Linked DNA regions of Homo sapiens: regions 1 and 2 are each linked to region 3. The links are contacts of gene promoters, found by promoter capture Hi-C in human tissues and cell types (Jung and others, 2019). All regions are on one chromosome and are shown on one strand. Each heading gives the region's core, a stretch centred on a gene start or on the middle of the fragment in contact. The rest is flanking DNA. Distances are from core to core; before and after follow the strand shown. Region 1 has its middle 32 kb from the start of LINC00524. Region 2 has its middle 64 kb from the start of LINC00524. Region 3 holds the start of DIO3 (iodothyronine deiodinase 3).

The links. The method cuts DNA at HindIII sites, captures the fragments that hold promoters and counts their contacts. A contact is called where the count stands out against the background at its distance.
Region 1: a fragment that was not itself captured here is called in contact with the fragment with the promoter of DIO3 in region 3 in 2 of the 25 tissues and cell types used here (H1 embryonic stem cells and IMR-90 fibroblasts).
Region 2: a contact is called between a fragment that was not itself captured here and the fragment with the promoter of DIO3 in region 3, in 3 of the 25 tissues and cell types used here (H1 embryonic stem cells, IMR-90 fibroblasts and mesendoderm cells).

What each region holds. Positions count from the first base shown.
Region 1 is chr14:101,374,270-101,377,685 of GRCh38, forward strand. No RefSeq gene overlaps it. Among named protein-coding and RNA genes, the nearest start is that of LINC00524, 32 kb to the right of the region's middle. The HindIII fragment of the contact is 6,318 bases long and covers 1-3,416 here.
Region 2 is chr14:101,341,869-101,345,705 of GRCh38, forward strand. No RefSeq gene overlaps it. Among named protein-coding and RNA genes, the nearest start is that of LINC00524, 64 kb to the right of the region's middle. The HindIII fragment of the contact is 3,603 bases long and covers 314-3,837 here.
Region 3 is chr14:101,559,345-101,562,994 of GRCh38, forward strand. It overlaps DIO3 (iodothyronine deiodinase 3), which reads left to right and starts at 2,151. Exons shown (of 1, transcript NM_001362.4): 1 at 2,151-3,650. The coding sequence starts at 2,153. The coding sequence ends at 3,067. It overlaps DIO3OS (DIO3 opposite strand upstream RNA), which reads right to left and starts at 1,078. Exons shown (of 2, transcript NR_152588.1): 1 at 908-1,078. MIR1247 (microRNA 1247) reads right to left here and starts at 1,078; the gene lies at 943-1,078. The HindIII fragment of the contact is 20,870 bases long and covers 1-3,650 here.

The DNA of each region.
Region 1 (3,416 bases), core at 246-2,745, 190 kb before region 3:
GTTTTCCTCCTTTTAAACCTTTACCTTGACAGCTCTTTTCTAGATTCATTCAACAAATGCACCATTAATTTATGACAACGAAGACTAAACCAGACCTGGAATGCTCAGTTAGTGATTAGCGACACCCTGTCTTGAACCACCGCGTGACTAAGGGCAGAGCCAAGCTGTCTCTATCTTTGTTTCTGGCAGTCGGAGGATCAAGGCACTAATACGCTTACTGTGCCCAGACAGCCCTCCTTTTACCTGGCATCCCATTCACTCATTCCGTCGTCTGTGCAACAAACACTGACCACCCCTCCAGACAAGGACTGAGATGCCCGACACCCGATTCCTGCCTTGAAGGAGCTCTCTGTCTAACGGGAAGACAGGACAGGAACCCACGCAGCCAAAATCAACTGCAGAACGCAACTTCCTTCACTAGTGTCTATAACAGCCTTGTCACAGGGTGATAATTGCTGCATCTACTTTCCCTCGACGGCAGACATTGAACAGTAGGCACTCAGTAAGTATTCGGTGAATGAATAAACAATTACAGAAGAGCGCTGCCAGATGCAGATGGCAGGAGGAAGAAGAACCACAGACTCCTCCTCCTCCTCCAAGACCCAACCAAAGGAAAAGAATTCATTAGAGCAAAATTCACTAGCAATAACCACCTTGTGCCATAAACATGAAAAAGGGCAGCCAAGGGAAAAGCAGGAGATGCTGGTTTGGCACAAGGTCGTGTGATTCCTAACCCCACCCTCAACCCCTGGAAGCTTTCCTAAGGAAAGAAATTGAGACTGAGAATTCTCCCAGAACTCCTGCAGTGGGCGGCCTATGGGGCAGGGCTGCAGGGACAGCCAGGCAAAAGTGAAGTTAGAGCTCTCAGGAGTAGAAGTTCCTGCACTTCACAATGGGAGCTCAGCAAGGGAAACACATTTGGCATTTTCCAGGGCGTGAGGCTGCCAGATTTAGCACATGAGAAGGTGCCAAAATGTCCCCTTGGGGACATACTTATACTTAAAAAATTATGCATTGTTTATCTGAAATTCAAATTCAACTGGGCATCCTGTATTTTATCTGGCAAGTCCACCAGGGCACTGTGCTGAGTTAGAATAACAATTTGTGGCCTGTGGGAGGGAGAACATGCCCACAGCTGAGTGAAGTGGTCCTGGGACAGAACACTCAAGGGAGGTGTCCAACAGGGACCACCTCCGCTACCCCTCACTCCCTGAAAACTTAGACAATAGGATATCTGATTGAGAGTAGTCTTCAAAGTACAGCCCAAGGAGAGAATGACAAACTAGCCCCCGGTAAGATGGGGAAACGTATCACAGAATGCATCGCACAAATAGGAAAGCTAGATGGAGCTGCCTCTGCCATATATCATGAAAAGAATGAAAAATAGCAAGGCGATAAATGCACATGTACTACCCAAAGAAGGATGGGAAGGGAGGAGAGAGAACAAAGAGGAAGGGAATGAGAGAAATCGTTGAAGAATAAAGTCTGGGAGAAAACGCAGGATCAGATTCCCTGTGAGTGCTGCATACCAAAGAATGAATGGCTGGCTGAATAGATAGATAGATAGACAGACAGACAGATACATAGATAGAGAGATAGAGAGATAGATAGATAGATACATACATACATAGATACATAGAGAGATACATAGATACATAGATAGATGATAGATAGATGATAGATAGATAGATAGACAGATAGATACATAGATACATAGAGAGATACATAGATACATAGAGAGATAGATAGACAGATAGATGATAGGCAGATAGATAGATGATGGATAGACAGATAGATGACAGATAGATGATAGATAGGCAGACAGATAGATGATAGGCAGATAGATACAGATAAATTAGATATATAGACAGATAGATTAGATAGATAAATTAGATACATAGATACGTATGCATATGTTTGAATATATCTATATCTACATATAATATATATGTATACATTTGTATATATGAATACTACTCATATATATATATATATGAATACAACTATACAAAAACCAAAAGGTGCAAGTATAAAATAAAAGAATAATATTGACCAGCTAAGAAACCTTAGAGCCAATTTATAAATCAAATAAATAAATTACAAACAAGAAGAGATCTGACACTTGGAAACTAAATTAATGACATGGAGTTATGATCTGAGGTCATGACCGGAAATGCAGAAGAAAAAAAATAAAGAGTTGGGAGTGATTAAAGAGAAGATCATGGATATGGAGGACAGGCAGGGCATTCAAACGAAGGAAAACAAATGTCCCTCAAGCAGACAACTCACTAAATGGAATAGAAGACATTATTCCAAGATATAACACAAGACATTTTTCCTGAAGTGAAGGAAAAAGTGGATATACCAATTGAAAGATTACTAATATACCAGGAAGGCTTCAGATATACCCTGGTTGTTACTAAGCACCAATCAATGTCAAAGAGCTCATTATTTAAGCATAAAACTAGAAAAAAGCAAATAACTTACAAGGTGGAAAAAATCTGTTAATCTCAGACATCACAGAATCATTCAGCAATAGAAGACAACAGAGCAATTTCTTACTTTGCCAAATTACCCTTCAAGAAGAAAACAAAAGGCAAGCATTCTCAAACATTAAAGAATTCAGTAATATAAAACCTATGAATCCTTCTCAAAGGAAACACTGAAACAATAATCCAGCTAAGCAAAAGATGAGTAAAATTTTAAAAACTCTAGTATAGGTGAGCCTTGGTAAAGAGGTGTCAGTGAGCAATGCAGATGTTTGCAACTATAGCAGAAATCATACAATGGAGAATTATGCTTTGCTGATGGTAAATATTATAAACTCCGGTGCAGCAGACAGGGAGGTGCTCCTCTCAGACCCCTTTCAGGACCTAATGGGGGATCCCGACTTCAGGATCCAGCTGTAAGGGGTTAGGCAACAGCCTCCAGCTGTTAACTCTCAGCTTCTGAGCCAAAGTCATGCTCTTCTTGGGGCAGCCCCCAGCCAGTGACTGAGCAAGTCAGCGATGGAGGGGCCTGGTCTGTTCCACCCAAAGTGGGTCTCCTCTGAGGGACAGTCTTTGCTCTGGAGCCTCTCACTGGACTGGCAGAGTTTCCTGGTCTGCATCAGAGGCTGACCGCTTTCCCTGCCCTTTTCTTCCACAAGTGTTACTCCCTAATAACCTTTGCGCTTCCCTTTATTCTTGAAGAATCCAAGCCTGCACACATAGCAAAGCAAAAATAATATATGCAACAAAAATAGGTAGACTGAGAAAGGAGGAATGGAGTGGTGTAAGGAAGCCACTCACCTCATTTTCTACAGTGGGGAGTTAAGACGTACTGCAAAAAATTAAAGCATAATGAGACCGGGAGCAGTGACTCACACCTGTAAATCCCAGCACTTTGGGAGGCTGAGGCAGGTGGATCACTTGAGG
Region 2 (3,837 bases), core at 865-3,364, 220 kb before region 3:
TCGGCTGTCTACACTGCCATGTCTGCCAACCAAGCAAGCACTCAGGGCTTGCTGGGCATTGTGATGGGCACTGGGTACAGCAATGGCTGCAGGGAGTTCACAGTTGAGTAAATTTAAAGCAATGTTGCAGAGTGCTGGACTCAGCTCCAATCACCCCAACCCTGGGAAAGTGCCCTGCCCACCATCCCCCAGCCCTGCTTGACCGGGAGCCCATTCTTTTGTGTTCTCAGAACAAAGTTTAAAGATTGCAGTGCAGATACTTCACACCCATTAGAATGGCTACGATCAAAAAACATAAAAGAAGTATTGAAGAGGGCATGGAGAAACTGGAATCTTTGTGCATTGCTAGTGGGAATGTAAAATGGTACAGCCACTGTGGAGAGCAGTATGGCACTTCCTCAAAATAGTTGACATATAATATAATTATTATATGATCTAGCAATTCCACTTCTGGATAGATAGCAAAAAGAACAGAAAAGAACTCACATAGATATATGTACACCTGTGTTCATAGCAGCTTTCTTCACAACAAAAAGGTAGAAACAACCAAGTGCCCATCAACAGATGAAAGGGTAAACAAAACGTGGTACATCCATACAGTGGAATATTATTCAGCCAGAAGATTTTGAATGCTCCCAATACAAAGAAATGGTAAATGTTTGAGGTGATAGATATACTAGTTACCTCGCTTTTCATTACACATTGTATACACATATCGAAATATCACATCTACCCCATAAATATGTACAATTCTTATGTGTCAATTAAACATTTGAAGAAGGAAGGAAAATTTGACACAATATTACAACATGAGTGAATCTTAAAGATGTTATTCTAAATAAAATAAGCCACACACAAGAGGACAAATACTGTACTATTCCAAGATTAAGAAAGTAGAATGGTGGTTATCAGGAGCTGGGTGGAAGGTAGAAATTGGGTGTTCTTGTTTAATGGGGACATAGTTTTAACTTGGAAGGATAAACATGTTCTAGAGTGGATGATGGTGATGGTTGCACCACAATGTGAATGTACATAATGCCACACAACTGTACACATAAAAATGGCTAAGATAGTAACTTTCATGTTCTGTATATTTTACCACAATAAAAAAATATATAGGTAAAATTTCTTTCTTTTCTTTTTTTTTTTTTTGAGACAGAGTCACCCAGGCTGGAGTGCAGTGGTGCAATCTCGACTCACTGCCACCTCTGCCTCCTGGGTTTAAGTGATTCTCCCGCCTCAGCCTCCCGAGTAGCTTGGACTACAGGTGCCCACCATCAGGCCTGGCTAGTTTTTGTATTTTTATTACAGATGGGATTTCACCATGTTGGCCAGCCTGGTCTCAAACTCCTGGCCTCAAGTGATCCACCTGCCTTGGCCTCCCGAAGAGCTGGAATTACAGGTGTGAGCCACCATGCTCTGTCCATAGGCAGAATTTCTGTTTCTGACCATGATGCAGTCACAGGAACTAGCTTTGCCCTCCCACACTAAACAACCAAACAACCAGACAAAACAACTATAAAAAAAAAAAAGACAATGATTTTTGGACACAGAACAACAGGCCACACAGAGCAGAGATCCTTTAAAGAAGGGAAACAAATGGGCAAGCCTTACCACGGTCCTCACTTACCACCTAGAAATCCTTTCCAGGCTACGTTCCAGGGAAAGCTGACCCAAACAGAGCCTGCTGTTCCCTCAAAGGAGGAGACAGAGCTGAGAACCCAGGGAGGCCCAGGCAGCTAGAATTGTAGGGCAGAGTTCAACGAGGCTTCCCCTGGAGACTTCCATGGAGTACTGATGGATGTATGCCTGCAAGACAACTACCAAGGCCAGGAAACTCCCACCAGAAAGGAACAGGCAGAAAAATGTGTGAGTCTCAGTGGGCCAGGAACAGATTGTGTTCTCACCAGTCCAAGTAGAGAAACTTTGTAATACCCAAGGCATCAGGTAGAGTACTCAGAAGGCTATTGCCACAAGAGCAAAGTAAAATCATCCCTACACCAATGGCCATCCTGGTTTCCCCTGACAACGCTTTAAAGTAAACCTCAAAAAGGATCAGGCTGTTTCCAAGTAACACAATGGCTTCCAAGGATAACACTCAAGAACATGTAAAGGAATATAAAGTTATCCGGCACCTACAAAATAAAATGTACAATGCTGGCATCCAATGGAAAAGAATGCAAAGTAATAGAAAAATATGACCCAGAATCAGGAATATCAATCAATAGAAACAGACCCAGAAATGACACAGATGATAGAGTTAGTGGACAAAGATGTTAAAAAGTTATCATATTTTGTATGTAGAGTTAGTCGACAAAGATGTTAAAAAGTTATATTTTGTATGTAAAGAAGGTAGAGGAGAACATAAGAATATTGAAAAAGAGGCATTGGAAGTTGTAGAAAAGAAGACACAAATTGAATTGATAGAGTTTTTTTTAAAGCTTAGGATGAAGTGTAGATTACACTATAGAAAAAAAAATGTAGTGTACCTGAAGACACAGAAATGCAAGCCACACAAAATAAAATAAAGAAAGTAAAAAGATGGGGGAAGGGGAGACTGACCAGAGAATTAGCATTGCTGGGACAAATTCAAATGTCCCAATCTACATGTAATTGGAGTCCCTGAAGGAGAGGCAGATGGGAAAAAATTGAAGAAATTATGATTGAAATGTTTCCAAATTCTATAAAAACTATAAACCCACAGATACAAGAAGTTTGAAGAACCTCAACCACTGTACATCATAGTAAAATTGCCCAAAAGCAGTGATATAGAGAAAACTTTAAAAGCATTCAGCATAAGGGAGGGAGAAATGCTTTATGTACAGAAGAACAAATGTAAGAATGAGAGCCAAATTCTTATCAGAAACAAAGTATGCCAAAAGATAATACAGCAACATCTGAAAGTGAAAACAACTGTCCATCTAGAATTATTTACCCACCAAGAAAAATTATCTTTCAAAAATAAAGGCAAAAAGGAAGACCTTTTCAGATACACAAAAGCTGAAGAAGTCCATTGCCAGCAGACCTTCACTTGCAAGAAATGGTCAAGTAAGCCCTTTGAGCAGAAGACAAATGTTAACAGATAGAAATCTAGATGTATGCAAAGAAACGAAGAGCACCAGCAATGGTCCATATTGAATAAATATAAAAGGCATTTTCTCTTATTTAAAAAAAAATCTCTTTAAAAGATAATTGACTATTTCAAGTAAGCTTAATAATGAGGCTTAAAGTATATGAAGAAATGAAAGGCATAACAGCAATAGCACAAAGGCTGGAAAGGGAGAAACAGGAGTACAGCTTGGTAAGATGGTTGTGCTGTATGGGAGGTAGTCTAATATTACTCAAAGACAGACTGTTATAAATTTAAGATTTATACTGAAAGTCCTAAAGCAACCTCTATTTAAAAAATATATGTAGCAAAAGGCTGGGCATGGTGACTTACGCTTGTCATCCTAGCATTTTGGGAGGCCAGGGCAGGAGGATTACTTGAGCTCAGGAGCTCGAGACCAGCCTGGGAAAAATAGTGAGACCTCATCTCTTTAAAAAAAAAAAAAAGGATCAAATTGATAAACCACTCTCCAGACAGATCTGGAAAAAGAAAGAGAAAAAAGCAAATTGCCAATATCAGAAATAAGAGAGAAAAAGGATATCACTGAAAATACTGCAGACAATAAAATGACTATGAGAGAATATTATGAGCAACTTTCTATAAATAAACTCAATAATTTCAATAAAATGGAAAAAGTCCTTGAAAGACATGAACTGCCAGATCTCACTCAAGAACAGGTTATCCAAATAGCCCAGCTTCATATCTATTAAAGAAATGTAATTTGCTGT
Region 3 (3,650 bases), core at 901-3,400:
GGACTTCCAAGGAGAATTCCCTAGCCCACCTGAAAGACCCCTACCCAGAGTGGTGAGGGGCAGCTTAGGAGCACTGACGCAAGGGGGAGAGACCAGGCTGGCTTCCCTCTACGTAGTAAGTTCCTGGGGTGTGCGCCCCTGCCCCAGACAGCAGAGAAATCGCCTGACTGGGAGATGGAGAAGAGGGGCCACCTTCTCATGCCACCCCGCCGCCAATCCTCCAGGCACACTCGGGCGCTTGACCTGCTGAAGCCTGTAGCCTCAGGTCCAGTGAGGAGCTCACGGGACAGAGGGCCCTACCAGAGCCACGAAAACCGGAGGGGGGGACCTCCGCCCAAGGCAGGCGTCTCTGCGCGCCCGCTGGGGCCCTGGTCCTGCAGTTGGCTTCTCCCGACACGTTCCTTCGCTGCCGAAAGCGATTCGCCCGCGCTCTACCGAGCCCAGCCAGCTCCTACCTCGGCCCGGGCGGCGAGCGCTGTCTCCGTCCCGAGAAGAAGTTTCGCGGCTGGTCCCGGGGCGGCAGGCGCACGGGACGCTGGCGGCGGCGGCGGCTTCCGACTTGGGCTCAGACCCCGCCGCTCCAGACAAGTCCCCGCGACTGCGACAGTGTCTCGGGCAGTTCAGCTCCCCAGACGGGAGACAGACCCTCGCGACCTGGTTCAGGCCTTGCCCTGGGGGACACTGCAGTCCAAGGCGAAAGGAGACTTGCTCCCGGCCTCTGGGTCCCTAGGTCAAGGCACCTCCCCGCCCCGCCGCCCCTGAGCCCAAGTCGCCAACCCCGCGCCGCGCGCAGCGAGGGATCAGAAGGTCTCGGACGCCGCGGCAGGGCCGGCCAGGGCCCCACGAGTTAGGGAGTTGCCCCGCACCCCTAAACGCTCAGCACCCATTTACGGTTGAAAGTACGCACTTGACGCGTCCGGGCGCCTCCGCGGTGAGTCGCGCCGCCGCTCTCGGGGTCCGCGAAGGTGGCTCAGTTCGGGCGCTCCAGTCTCGACGTTCCCGGGGTAGAGAGCAACGTCCGGGGACGAACGGGACGGGTGCGCCCAGCGGCCGGGGCTGCGCTGGGCGAGGCAAGCGGCGAGAGGGGAGCGCTCCGGCGTTCAGGCAACAGCTACCCCTAGTGGGAGAGCCGCCCGGGGCCGGCGCCGCCCCGCGCCCGCTGCCCCGCGCCCCACGCCCGTGGCGCCCCGCGCCCGGGTCGGCTGGGGGCGCAGGGCCGGCGCCGCTTTCCCCAGCTCTCCGGTCTCCGGCGCCCGGCGGTAACCCGCCCGCGGGCTCTGCCCTCCGCACCTCTCAGCCCGGCCCCGGCGGCCGCTGACCCAGGAACCGCGGCGCCCCGCTGGAACGAGATGGGACGGGGCGGGCGCGGCCAGGGCGGCGCGGGCTGGGGCGGCGCGCGGCAGCCTCGGGCAGCGGCGGGGGGCGCGGAGCGCGGTGTGCGTGGCGGGGCGGTGCGGGGGGCGGCCGTGTGCGAGGCGCGAGTGTGAGCGCGCGCGGGAGGCGGGCGGGCGGGCTCCGGCAGGCGAGCGGCGCCCGCGGGCGAGCCAGGAAGGCGGCGGGAACGCAAAGTTGCCTCCTCGCTGGCCCGCGTCCTCGGTGGGGCGGGAGCCGGGGCCACCGAAGCGGCGGCCGCGGACCCGGCCTCCCGCGGCACCTGGGCAGCGGCCCCGCACGAGCGGCAGCGGCGTGGGCGGCGTTGGCGGCGGCGCGCGGGAAGCGAACCGGAGCTCCGGCGCGGCTCGGCGGCCGCCGGGGAGCTCGGCTCAGGTGCGCGGCGAGGGGGGCGCGGGCCGGAGCCAGGCGGCGGGGACCAGGGCGGCGCGCAGCGCTCGCGCCAGCTGGAGGACCTCCCCAGCGGACGCCCAGGTCCCTGGTCGGGCTCCCGGTCCCCAGCGGCAGCGGCTGCCGGAGTCCCCCGCCCCCGAGAGCTGGCTGCGGGGCCCGGGCCCGCCCCCACCGGCCCCAGGCCCGGCCGCTCCGCCCTCCGCCCGCCTGCGCCCGCCCTCAGCCCAAGATTTCTAGGGCATTGGCCGCGCTGCTGGGTGATCCCTCCGGGCTCAAGTTGCAAGGGGGCGGGCCGGGCCGGAGGTGGAGTCTCCCGCCAATTGAAGCCTCCGCTATAAATTGAACTCCCTGCACTGCTGAAGCCCAGATGCCTCGCCAGGCCACGTCGCGGTTGGTGGTCGGAGAGGGCGAGGGGTCCCAGGGGGCTTCGGGGCCTGCAGCCACCATGCTCCGCTCCCTGCTGCTTCACTCCTTGAGGCTCTGCGCCCAGACCGCCTCGTGCCTCGTGCTCTTCCCGCGCTTCCTCGGCACGGCCTTCATGCTCTGGCTTCTCGATTTCTTGTGTATCCGCAAGCATTTCCTGGGCCGCCGCCGCCGGGGGCAGCCCGAGCCCGAAGTGGAGCTCAACAGTGAAGGCGAGGAGGTGCCTCCCGATGACCCGCCCATCTGCGTGTCCGACGACAACCGCCTGTGCACCCTGGCGTCGCTCAAGGCGGTGTGGCATGGCCAGAAGTTGGATTTCTTCAAGCAGGCGCACGAGGGCGGTCCGGCGCCCAACTCCGAGGTGGTTCTGCCCGACGGCTTCCAGAGCCAGCACATCCTCGACTACGCGCAAGGGAACCGCCCGCTGGTTCTCAATTTCGGCAGCTGCACCTGACCACCGTTCATGGCGCGCATGAGCGCCTTCCAGCGCCTGGTCACTAAGTACCAGCGCGACGTCGACTTCCTCATCATCTACATCGAGGAAGCGCACCCCTCCGACGGCTGGGTCACCACGGACTCTCCCTACATCATCCCACAGCACCGGAGCCTGGAGGACCGGGTCAGCGCAGCGAGGGTACTGCAGCAAGGTGCACCCGGCTGCGCTCTGGTCCTCGACACCATGGCCAACTCCAGCAGCTCGGCCTATGGCGCCTACTTCGAGCGTCTCTATGTCATCCAGAGTGGCACTATTATGTACCAGGGCGGCCGTGGCCCCGACGGCTACCAGGTCTCTGAGCTGCGCACTTGGTTGGAACGCTATGATGAGCAACTGCACGGCGCTCGGCCCCGGAGGGTGTAAACATCCAACGGACAATTGACTGAACTTGGTGGGCTGGGCCTTCGAGCCTTCGAAGCCCACGTGCAAGCGCCTCAAACCAAGTCACGCTTGGCGAGGCCCCAGTGACACTGATGTGCTGAGCCACCATTTCAGACTGAGTCTGCACCCTCAGCCACATGAACAATCTCCCCTACCTCCCTGGGACTCTGCTTCTGTAACTGTCTCATTCACACCTGCCTGGCTCACTGGAAATCCTCTTTTGAGCGCGGGATATGGCTTGCCCTTGTCCGTGTGCCCCCAGGACTTTGCCTCTACAGCATTTTCTTACACCCCCTCCCCAGCGTGCCCTCAGCCAAGTGCTTTGGCCCGGTGCTTCCCGCAGCTGCACAGAGACCTTGGCCACGCCCGCGCGCCCTGAGCGCAGCTGGGTTCCAGGAGACTCTCAGCTCAGCTGAGCTAGTTGCCTGGCACCCACCTGTCGCGCGCGGAGAGGGGGTTCCCTGTTGCTTTTGTGTCTGTTTCCTGTCCCTGGTAGGGGAAGTGATGTCGTGGATGGGGAGGGGTGGGCAGGGTAGTTTCCCCCGCTTGTTTTGGGTGCACAGGA